2 separate regions of the Homo sapiens genome follow, and region 2 is linked to region 1. Evidence: promoter capture Hi-C in human tissues and cell types (Jung and others, 2019). All regions are on one chromosome and are shown on one strand. Each heading gives the region's core, a stretch centred on a gene start or on the middle of the fragment in contact. The rest is flanking DNA. Distances are from core to core; before and after follow the strand shown.

Region 1 (6,112 bases), core at 1,182-3,681:
TCAAGGGTTAGGAAAATGGAAAAGAACCGTGAGCCCCTCAAGAATGGTGGCTTTTCTTATTGGAATGAAGTAAATAAAATAAATTCATCAGCAATGCATTTAATTTCTCTCTTAGCAATTAATTGTGTATCTACATTGAATGATAACTGTGTAAACAGTCAAGATATGCATGTGGCAAATGAAAAATAAAGCAAAATGTTTTATCTTAAAAAAAAATGCATTGATTCCTTGAAACAACCCTATGAGAGGAAATTATTATTGTCCCCATTCTATAGATGAAGAAAATCAAGCCCAAGAGAGATGAGGGAACTCCACCAATATCACACAGCTAGTCAGTGGCACAGCTGGGATACAAAGACAGGCATCTTGCCCCAGAGCCTGCCCTCTCACCTTCTAGCTCTGCACTGCCCGATACAGGAGCCACTGGCTGCATGGAGCTATCAGGTACTTGAAACAGGGCTGGTGTGACTTGAGAAGTGCTATAAGTGTGAAATACACATTAGATTTCAAAGACCTCATGTAAATATTATATATATATATATAAAATATCTTGCTAATACTATATCACTTACTTGTAGAAATGATAATATCTTGGATATATTGAATTAAATGAAAGATATTATTACTATTCATTGCACTTGTTTCTTTTTACTTTTTCTATTTTTTATTTTTTTGAGATGGAGTTTCACTCGTGTTGCCCAGGCTAGAGTGCAGTGGCACCATCTCGCCTCACCACAACCTTCACCTCGCAGGCTCAAGAGACTCTCCTGCCTCAGCCTCTCGAGTAGCTGGGATTACAGGTGTGCACCACCATGCCCGGCTAATTTTTGTATTTTTAGGAGAGACGAGGTTTTGCCATGTTGGCCAGGCTGGTCACGAACTCCTGACCTCAGGTGATCCGCCTGCCTCGGCCTCCCAAAGTGCTAGGATTACAGGCGTGAGCCACTGCACCCAGCCTCTTTTTACTTTTTTTTAGTATGAGTTGTAGAAAATGTTAAGTGACGTTTGTGATTCACGTTACATTTCTGTTGGAGAGTGCTGCTGGCTAGTGCCCTAACCTCCTAGTTCGGTGGATGCATTAAATCAGTTAATGCAAGGAGGGCACCTAGCACGCTGTCTGAAGCAAATTAAGCACCTAATAGCTATTATTAATATTAGTGAGCGTACTGGTTTTCAAATGTTGTAGTCTAGTATTTTTTCCCCCAAAAAAACTGGTTGTTTTTTTTTTAATTTTTTTAAGAGGAAAGTTCTTACTCTGTCACCCAGGCTGGAGTAGAGTGTTGTGATCATAGCTCACTGCAGCCTTGAACTCCTGGGCCTAAACAATCCTTCTGCCTCAGCCACCTGAGTGACTAGGACTACAGGCACATGCCACCACGCCCAGCTAATTTTTTAATTTTTTGTAGAGACAGGGTCTATTTTCTCTAGGTTGGTCTTGAACTTCTGGCCTCAAGCAATTCCCCCACTTCGGCCTCCCAAAGTGTTGGGATTACAGGCGTGAACCACCATGCCCGGCTCCCAAACAACTTCTTATAGCAGATAAAAGAGGAGCTTTTGCAGTAGAGTAGAGCTTTGAGGAGCCCTCTTGGGGAGCCCATTCACCCTGGGCACCACCTCCACAAACTGGAAAACCCACAGGATGACATAATCTTTAAGTGTCCTTCAAGCTTTAGCATTCCCTATCATTTCAGAGAAGTTGAGGAAGTGATTGGGAAAGAATTAAGGTGTCTATGGCAGTATATTACAACGACTATGGAAAAACACTCCCATTTTGCTTGGGAAAATCAAAGTGGCTTGGCCCCAGGTCTAGGCACAGCCCAGAAATGGGAGCATCACCAATGTGAGTTGTGGGGCTTGGCCCCAGGTCTAGGCACAGCCCAGAAATGGGAGCATCACCAATGTGAGTTGGGGGTCCCCGTGGGCTCCTGGATCATTACCTACGCACGTTCACACAGACAATACCGATGCACCATGTCACCTCTCCACTTCGGCTCGGTCACAACCTGCCAACTCCCCACCCACCCAGAACCTGGGCAGACCAGACACAGGCTCTAGGCGCCAATGTCCTAGTCTAGCTCCAGGGCCAGGCAACAGTGACACTCAGCCCAGGCACCACAATGATTTTGCTGTCCTGAAGGCAACTTAGGCTCAACCAGCCCTGGTGTCTGCCAGGCAGGCTCCCAACTCTGCCTCCAGCCCTCGCCCCTGGCTCTGGTATCGTATGTGTGGACGGGGAGAGCAGCCAACTCTTCGCCGGGCTCTCTAACAAGTTCCGCGGGTCTGTTTGTTAAAGAAAAATTCCAGTGGGTGCATCCAACACATGGAACTCAAGTACAGAAATTATATTTATCCGCCCCACTGCCAAGGAGATCACATGCCCCGTGAGTCACTCCAGATGTGCTCAAAAACAGAGTCTCTCTGTGGAAGGCCAGTTCCCCAATCCCAGAGAGCGTCAAATGAAGAGAGGTACCGACTCCTGTCCCACCCAGGACGCAGCCTTCAGCCTCCAGCCTTCTGAGGCAGAGTAGGCATTTCTGCACGTCTGCAAAAGGAAGGGAGGGAAGCACTCCATCATCTCACTGGGAAGAACGGCACGGGCATACCTGCAGCTACTGGGGTTCCACTGGGCTTGAGGGTCGATTTTTCACCTTTTGAAGGACAAGATGCATTGGAAGATGTTGCTGCTTCTGCTGTTGTATTACAATGCTGAGGCTTCTATGTGCCACAGGTGGAGCAGGGGTGAGTTGCTTTTTATTCATTTGTTTGTTTGATGCTCATTATACTTTCTTCAATGCAATTCAAAATTTGGAGGGAAGGACATTAGAAGCCCCGCACTCTCCTTTTGTCTAATCTCTGTCAATTCCTTGATGCTTCTTGACGTGTTCCCCCTTCTTAGAGGGTGATGGGGAAATGACACTGGAAAAAATCAAAGCTCCTGAGGGAATTAGGTTGAGGTGGAGAACCCAGAGAGTACCCCTTTCTGGCATCCCAGAGAGAACTCATTTCTGCTTCATAGAAAGTAGAACTCATTTCTTCGACTGCCCCCACCACCTGCAGCAGTTGGGCCAGACCGTCTGGAGAGCAGGTGCTGAGACCTGCTGCTAAAATGATGGAGTGATGGGCACTGGGATGCCAAAGGCCTGCTCCCTGGGGGAACCAGAGCAGAAGCTCTGCAGAACGTTGCCTCCTCACCGGGAGGGGATGCATCTCTGCAGCCAGAGGTGGGCAGGTGAGGAGAGCAACCCTTCAACCTCCACTGCACCCACCAGCTCCGCCACCTCCTCACAAAGGAAGGGGCCCCAGCAAAGGCTGTTCTCTTATCACTGACTTCCTCCCCCTCAGGATGTAGTTCCTCCTAGCTGGATGGCATCTTTTCTCCATTTCCCTGGGAGTGGCTCTGCTTGGTAGACACTGGGAGCACCTCGAGCCAGAGTTTATCACTGTTAGGAAAGGAGGGACCCACGGCACTGCCCACTCTTCACCAATATGAACGGAAATCTTTCCACTGCCTAAAGTCAACTGAGTTCACTCTCCTAGAAAGAACCGCAAGAAGAACAGGCTCCTTCAAGTCAGGCCAGTAGGTGTTTCTAGAGATGCAAAATTGGAAGGCAACTGGCATGGTGGCATGGATGCGCCTCCTGCTTGCTTCTCAAGGACAGTGTCAGGGAAGGAAGGAGTGGCCGGAGTGGGGATAGAGCAGCGCGAGAGAAGGATCTGAAATGGGAGGGAGGCAAAAGCTACTGTACTTATGCTGGGTTTTATTTCCTCATGGTTAAACGTGACATTAGGGACTTACATCTCTAACAGGGATATAAGTCTTTTGAGCTGAGCTGTGAAGTGATCGTTGCCCAGAAACAAATAATACAGCATTCTTCATTTTTCTCATAACAACCTTGCATACACATGCACATACACACGTACACCCCTCCCTTTTCTTTTTTTAATTTTTAATTTTTAATTTCTGTGGGCACATAGTAGGTATACATATTTATGGGGCCTATGAGATGTTTTGATACAGGCACGTCACATCATGGAAGATGGGGTATCCATCCCCTCAAGCATTTAGCCTTTGTGTTACAAACAATCCAGTGATACCCTTTTAGTTACTTTTATTTGTTATTTATTTACTTATTTATTTATTTTTGAGACGGAGTCTCACTCTGTTGCCCAGGCTGGAATGCAGGGGTGCAATCTTGGTTCACTGCAACCTCCGCCTCCCAGGTTCAAGCGATTCTCGTGCCTCAGTCTCCTGAGTAGCTGGAGTTACAGGTGCGCACCACCACGCCTGGCTAATTTTTGTATTTTTAGTAGAGATGGGGTTTCACCATGTTGGCCAGGCTGCTCTCAAACTCCTGACCTCAAGTGATCTGCCCACCTCAGCCTCCCAAAGTTCTGGGATTATAGGCATGAGCCATAGTGCCTGGCCCTCTTTTAGTTCTTTTTAAATGTACAATTAAATTGTTATTGACTGTAGTCACCCTGTTTTCACACCTCCCTTTTCATTGTGTGCACAAACTTTGAGGTAGCACTTGGAAGTAAAAAGCAAAGAGATCTTGGAGTTGGGTTCTGTCACTCCCCTCTTTGTCACACTGGGGATTTGCTTATTAAACAGGGTAACAGTGCCCACTCTTCCTAAGGCACAGGCTATTACAAAGCCAAAAGGGATTATTTGACTTGCAATATGGTTTGTAAACACGATAGCCACATCATGAGCTACTCTGCAAGGGTCCTGGTTTAAGTTCCATCTCTATTTGGCAATGTGATCTCAGACAAGTCTCTTAACCTCTCTGAGCTTTAGTTCACTAACGGGTGACATTAACATCCATCACATCAATAAAACCCTCATGCTATTACTGTGAGGGTCATATTCAAAAATATAGATGAAAATACTTTGTAAATGACAAAGCACAATATAAATATTAGCTATTGCCTACCAGTTTTTGAAAAATAAAAATTTTTCATTAAAGGAAGTTTAAGGCTCTTAACAGGGGAATCTACAGCAACATTCTGGGAGCAACTTCTCCGGGCCATGTCCTTCCGCATTGGGGAAGGTCTTTCCACAGTGAGTTCACAATCCACTGACTCAAAGCCAGCCAAACCGAGGTCACTATGAGGCAGCGGATGTGACGTGCTAGATTAATGGCTCAAGTCAGCGCTGAGTCAACAAATGATACAGAGTCCCTCCAACCATCATCAAATGTCTTCCGCGTAGTTGATTTTTTTTTCATTTTTAACATTTTTTTCTAATTATAAAAGAAATACACAATTCTTGCCATCTTTTTTTTCAAGACTGAATAGGAGTCACACCCAAATGAGTAAGTTTTTCCAAATGTATTATTCATTTCACCTTCATCCTTACCCCCACCCTACCTCCAGCCTCAATTCAAAGTACTCCCTTTGGAAACAGTCTTAGGGCAATCTCTTCCAGAGCTTTTCCTCTTCCACCCCCTGCCCTTTGGCCCCCAGCCCCACCACTACCCCGTGTCCATCCTCCCACCCTCCTGCTCCAAAATGTAAATGTAGATGTAAACCCACAGGCAATATGCGCCTTGTTGTTAGCACTGTCTTTTTCCTACCATCCTCCCAGCCTTTCCCTAAGCGCTCTCTAGGATTCCACCCTGGGAGGCAGCTTTCCATGCCAGGATCCAGGATCACCCATTCCAGCCCCACCAGTTTGATGAAGACCAAATGACTCACCTGTGGCCAAGCCAGGAAAGCCACATCTACACACACACACACATACACACACACAGAAACACACACACACACACACAGGTGGCCCACGTCCCAGCACATACCAGGTCCTGCCAGGGCACCACTGGAAGGGGGAGGACTAGCCAGACTTGAGAAAGAATTATGCACCTATTAAGGATATGAATGAAATATGCACCTATTAAGGATATGAATAGCTATGCTTTTGTTGAATACATACAAGTTATTTTTTAAGTAGTTTAATAGAGCAGCCCTTCCATTTTTTGGTGGACCTTATGTCATTTTCAGGTGTCCATTTAAGGGTTGTGTGTGTCCTCAGTCATGAATGTTCCATGAGGGAAAGGCCTGTGGTCAGTACTCAGTAAGTACTCACTGACTGCCGGGCACGGTGGTGCACGCC
Region 2 (6,371 bases), core at 1,082-3,581, 37 kb before region 1:
ATATAATAAGGGAGAAAGCCTCCATTTATAATAGGAACCAGAGAGAAAGAAGATAAAATAAACTTAACCCAAAAATTCCACAGCTATAGGAAACAAACTTGAAAACAGTTCTGAAGGAAAAAAGAAATAAGATTTGAACAAATAGATGAACTGTGTTGTGATATATCAATACTCTCTAAAGAAATTCACAAATTAAACATTATACCAATATAACTACCAATAGACTTCTCATTTTCTGGAGCTAGACAAGATAATTCTAAAGTCCTCCAAGAGGAATCAAGTAGGAAAATTCTGAAAAGCAAGAGCAAAGAGTGATATTAATGTACACTGTTGGCTGGGTGCAGTGGCTCATGCCTGTAGTCCCAAAACTTTGGGAGACCAAAGTGGGAGGATCGCTTGAAGCCAGGGGTTCAAGACAAGCCTGGGCAACATAGCAAGACTTAAGCTCTATCAAAAATTAAATAAAACTAGCTGGACATGGTGGTGTGTGCCTACACTCCCAGCTACTTGGGAGACTGATGTGGGAGGATCACTTGAGCCCAGAAGTTCAAGGCTGCAGTAAGCTATGATTATGCCACTGCCCTCCAGCCGAGGCAACAGAGTAAGATCTTGTCTCTTTAAAAAAAAAAAATGCTGTTAAGCCTCAAATTGTTAAATTATGTGGCACTAGACTATAAATCATCAGACAGACTAATGTAACAACATAGAAAACACAGAAATATTCTCAATTACATAAAGATTTGATATATGATAAGTTTGGGAACTCGGTGGGAGAAACATGAACTTTTCAATGAATGGTGCTATTACAACTGGATACACTTTCTGGAAAATGTTTTTAAACCATACCTTATGCCATACACCAGGATAATTTTCAAACGGAACGAGAATTTAAATGTAATGACCAAGAAAGCAACCTACCAGAAAACATGGAGAATTCTTTTATAAGCTCAGAATGGGTAAGACCCTCCCTGAATGATTCAAAATCCAGATGTCGTGAAATAAAAGATATAAAAATTGTACACCATAAAAATTAAAACATCTGCATGGATAAAAATAAAACAGTCAAATGACATATTACAGACAAAGAGAAATGACAAATTGAAAAATATTTGCAACTCACATCCCATTATACGAAAAATTCTTACAAATTGACAAGAAAAAGGCCAAAGACGCAAATAAAACTGGACAAAGGAGAGCCCACCAAAAGGAAATACAAATGTTCTACCTCTGTCATAATAAAAGATGCAAATTAAAGCCAATGAGATGCCAATTTCCCACTTAACAAGTTGGCAAGAATACAAAAGTTTAGTAAGGCAGAAGCCTGTAACTTATGGCTAGTGGGAGTGTAAACTGATACAAACTGTTTGGAAGCAATTTGGCAAAATTTATTAAATCAGAAAGGCATGTTCCTTTTGGCCCAAGAATTCCACTTCCAGGAATTTATCCTACCGTTATTTTTTTAACATGTGCAAAGTGACCTACCTACAATGTTATCCAGAAGTATTGTACACAAGAGCGAAAGACTGTAATCAGCTTAGGTGTACATCAAGAAGACACCGATTTTAAAAACTGTGGCACAGCCACAAAATAGAATGCTATGCAGCTCTAAAAAGGAATGAACAAACTTATCAAGAACTAATGTAGAAATGTCTTCAAGATACGATGTCAAGAGAAAAAAGTAAGGTACAAGAGAGTGTGTAGAGAACACTGCTAGTTGTTTTTTAAAAGTTGGAAGAGGAAAGAATATAGATTCATATTTGTTTGTACCCACTTTAAAAATACCTCTTGATTGGGAGGCCGAGGTGGGTGGATCATGAGGCCAGGAGTTCAAGACCAGCCTGGCCAACATGGTGAAATGCCATCTCTACAAAAGATACAAAGAATTAGCTGGGCGTGGTGGCACCTGCCTATAATCCCAGCTACTCAGGAGGCTGGGGCAGGAGAATCACTTGGACCTGGGAGGCGGAGGGTGCAGTGAGCCGAGATCGCGCCACTGCACTCCAACCTGGGTGACAGGGTGAGACTCTGTCTCAAAAAAATAAATAAATAAAATAAATACCTCTTGAAGTATACCCCCAAAACACTACATAATACTGTGTTTCTGCTATACGAATAGAAACTGGAAAAACTGGAAACAGGTTTATGAAGCAGCCATTTTACTATATCCATGTATAGTTTTCACTTTTGAATTGTGCAAGTATTACCTATTTTTAAAAGCAAATGGTAATTTTTTAAAAGAATATGGTAAAAAAAAAAAAAAAAAAAAAAGAGAGAGAGAGAGATTAAATGATGTTTCCCTTGCTTAACACAAGCTGTTAAAGCCACTCGTAGAAAACATCATAACATGAACTAGGCTGCTCTAAGCACGTCATGTAGGGGCCACTGTCTGGCATTCTACCCTCTCAACCCATGAGGCCCCTACTCCTAGGAGAGAAACAAGGAACTGTCAGCTCACAGTCCCTGCTTTGCAGCCCCACACCAACCAGCCATGAACTGGGAAAAAAAAAAAAAAAAAAGCAAAATTAGCCAGGCCCAAGAAAGTCTTTCTTTGGGAAACTAAAGCTAGTTTCCCAAACTGCATAGTAAACTTTGAATAAGTTTGTGCAAACTCAATATTATGAAGATACAACTATATAATTTGCAACTATATTTTAAGATTTTAAAAAAGTCCTTTTGGAAAAAGAACACAAATGACAAATGCACCTGACATCTCTCACTGGGTTCTCCATAATTTGTACTTTTAAATGTGATGCTGGTGTACTACAGTCTCTTAGAAGCAACATTTTAACTTCGTGGGTGCTCCACTACTTGTGAGCTTACTATTGGACATGGTATGGTTAGTTCTTATGTCTGAGATACCGCAAACATAGGCAAATGTAGGAATGAATATCTATGACAACCGTGGCTATTTAAGCCATTGAAGCAACAAAACATCTTGACCTGGGCTGTCACTCTCTGGGTTAAAATGAAGAAGTTGAGGCATCTGTCTAGTCCTTCACGGATGCCTACTGTTGATCTACCCTACTCTATAGACTTGTGTGCCACTTCTTCCTTCTCCTACTCCTACTCCTTCTTTCTTCTTCTTTTCTTTCTCTTCCTCCTCTTCCTCCATCCTCTCTTCTTCTTCCTCCTCCTCTTCTTTTTCTCCTCCTCCTCCTTCCTTCTAGCTAAGCTACTGCTGTGGTTTTTTCTATATTCCCAGCCAGGTTTCCTAAGGTACCAGAGACAAAGGAGAGAGCAAAGGAGGGGCTGGGAAGGCTGGAGTCTTCTTCCACCTTCCTCCCCACTCCATAGCACTATTTTGCCTTCCTCACCTGCCTAAGCCCTATTCATTCTTAAGATTCAAGAAAGTTGTCACCTCTTTCAAGAAGCCTTCTCTGACTCCTCTCTACAGCATTGAGTGCCTGTCATTATGTTCCTTCATAATTTCCTGTGCCTGTTATCAAAGCATTAATCACCCTGTACTATCATTGTCTTCTGCGTGTCCACTTTCTCCTAAACTGTAAGCTCTTGAAGGCTAGGGGTGCACTTCATTCATGTGAATCCTTAAAGACTAGAATGTATCACCTGGCACAAAGTAGGTGCTCAGCAAACATTCAACACATAAAGGATGAGGTGGGAGAGAGGAAATCTGACCAACCAATGCTTAGGAGGCAACAGGGTGCAAATGTTTCCTTCTGCCATCAGCCAACGCAGGAGGCTAATTAGGGAAGCCTAGGAAGTGCTTGGACTGTCCATGAGATGTGAGTTCTGCTAGCAAATCTTTAAGTGGATCATCTTAACCATCCGGTCCACGGACAGTTAGGCATGACCAGGAGGAGAACAATCGCACGCCCTGTTTTCCCATAAAGCACCTGAGACATAGAACCTGTGCCCACAGGGGCTGAAGGAGCTCGGAGGCAAGCGAGTGCAATGTGACTCTTGGGGGGCCTCTCTGGAAAGCTGAGTCTCAAAGAAAGGAAGTTCAAGAGCTGGTTTGTTACAGAAGTAGTGGGAAGAGGGGACAGGACTAACGGCAAGGTGGCTAGGACCAGCCCATTACAGGGGTAGAAATGAGCCTCTCTCTTCCCCTACCACCTTTCTTCTCCTTCCCCGCTACCACTATCCTGAGACTACGAGGCTGTAAGCTAGAGGCGAAAGATTGTGCAATAAAGCCCAAATTATGATAATGGTAGTGAGAATACAGCAGGAGAAGGAGGAAGACCAAGCAGACCTGAGTCAGGGAGGGAGGAATTGCGTGAGCAGAGGTGGAGAATTCAGATCCTCTCCGGACTAGAACAGAAAGTACAGACCATGAGTAACCGCAAAACAATAGGGTTGAATGGGTAGAGAGCCATCGAGGGGAGAACAGAGGTGGCAATGGGGAGGTATTTTGTGTTCTTAAGTAAGGACATAACAAAAGCAGTGTTTTGATAAGAACAACTTGACAGAGAGATGCAGGGTGGTTAGAGCAAAGCCTCTTAGGAGGCTGATAGACTGATCAAGGATTCTCCACGAAAGCTGTTACAGTGGTGGGGGTTAGAATAAGAGTTAAAGCAAGTGTTTCATTTTTAAGGAAGAAATCATTACTGCCTGGAGGACAGATTAGATATAAGGTGTGACGTGTAAGGAAGAGTTATCATAGAGGATTCCAAAGTTTCTGTGACTTGACTGAAAAACCAGAAGTTCCCTTGGTGGGAACTGGGTAATAGAGGAAGAAAGCTGGGATTTGGGATGGGAAGATAATTAAGGAGCTTAATTAATGAGATTAGTGAGACTGTAGGGAGAAGCACATTAAGGCGAAGGCAGAATCATCTACAGGAAACACCCTCATGTGGTTCTTTACTTGGAGGAAGGAACCTCACATGACTGTCTTTAACATCAACCATACCGGACTCCCTGACAACATGAGTACAGCATGCTGTCATATTTTAACTCAATGATGACTTTTATATTATGTGATTTTTTTTTTTTTGAGATGGAGTCTCGCTCTGTCGCCCAGGCTGGAGGGCAGTGCCGCGATCTTGGCTCACTGCAACCTCTACCTCCCAGGTTCAAGCAATTCTCCTGCCTCAGCCTCCCAAGTAGCTGGGATTATAGGCACGTGTCACCATGCTCGGCTAATTTTTATATTTTTAGTAGAGACAGGGTTTCACCATGTTGGCCAGGCTGGTCTCGATCTCCTGACCTCAGGTGATCCGCCCACCTCAGCCACCCAAAGTGCTAGGATTACAGGCGTGAGCCACTGTGCCCAGCCTATATTATGTGATTTTTAAGACCATTGCATATAAACTCAGAAAAAGTTTGAAAGTTCACTGCTACTTTAGTGCTCACTATTTTTGGACTCACAGCATCACCGGGCGTTATTAACATCCCTGACTCACAAGCTCCGAATGAGCCTCTCTCAGGCAGTTCCCTACTCACCAATTTGCAAGCAGGTCCGTGTTTGCATTTTGGCCCTCCCATAATTATGTGTGTATTTGTTTGTACATCTCACATCATACCACTGTTAGGACCTTGACCTTTGATTGAATACGGTTTCAATCAGGTGCCCAAACTTCATAGAAATTACATCTTTTCTTAGTCAACTTTTCATGGAAGACCAGTGCTTTCAAATTGCCTTACTCGGAAGGAAAAAGCAGCTCAGGCTAGAAATATTCTTCCAGAAATACACTCCCTGTCCCAAACCAAGTCAACATGGAGAAGTCATCCTCGCTCCTACCCTTCAATATTCCACCAGAACAGGGGATGGGAAAGGAGGGAAGTGGGGGATGGTGAGGCGGAAGAGACCAGGCAGACCTGCCAGGGAAGACAGCCTTGGCAAGGAAGGAAGGGGGACAGCCACCAGAGCTCCATGTGACTCCACTCAATGGGGAGCAGAAGCAGCTGCAGCCCACATGACACATGATCCCTGCCAATCTTCCCGTGGCTACGGAACGGACGGGACCAGGTTTCCTAACATTCGCTCTGATTGTACCCAAATGTTCCCTGGTACACCTCTCACATCACGTCCTAGATTTTGAAATTTAAAAATCGTATCATGTCAGTATAATGTAGATGCAAGATAAAAGAACCCTGGGGCCCAGGCGCGGAGGCTCATGCCTGTAATCCCAGCACTTTGGGAGGCCAAGGCGGGTGGATCACCTGAGGTCAGGAGTTCAAGACTGGCCTGGCCAACATGGTGAAACCCCATATCTACTAAAAATACAAAAAATTAGCCAGGTGTGGTGGCGGGTGCCTGTAATCCCAGCAACTTGGGCGGCTGAGGTGGGAGAATCACTTGAACCCCAGAGGCAGAGGTTGCAGTGAGCCGAGATGGCTCCACTGCCCTCCAGCCTGAGTGACAGAGCGACACTGACTCAAAAAAAAAAAAAGAAAGAAAGAAAGAAAGA

The links. Contacts are between HindIII fragments. The study calls those that stand out against the background at their distance.
Region 2: a contact is called between a fragment that was not itself captured here and the fragment with the promoter of FAM180A in region 1, in 1 of the 25 tissues and cell types used here (small bowel).

What each region holds. Positions count from the first base shown.
Region 1 is chr7:135,745,132-135,751,243 of GRCh38, reverse strand. FAM180A (family with sequence similarity 180 member A) reads left to right here and starts at 2,431. Exons shown (of 4, transcript NM_205855.4): 1 at 2,431-2,739. The coding sequence starts at 2,664. RefSeq lists an enhancer at 4,794-5,993. The HindIII fragment of the contact is 9,123 bases long and covers 1-6,112 here.
Region 2 is chr7:135,782,035-135,788,405 of GRCh38, reverse strand. No RefSeq gene overlaps it. Among named protein-coding and RNA genes, the nearest start is that of FAM180A, 36 kb to the right of the region's middle. RefSeq lists a silencer at 3,656-3,838. The HindIII fragment of the contact is 7,973 bases long and covers 1-6,317 here.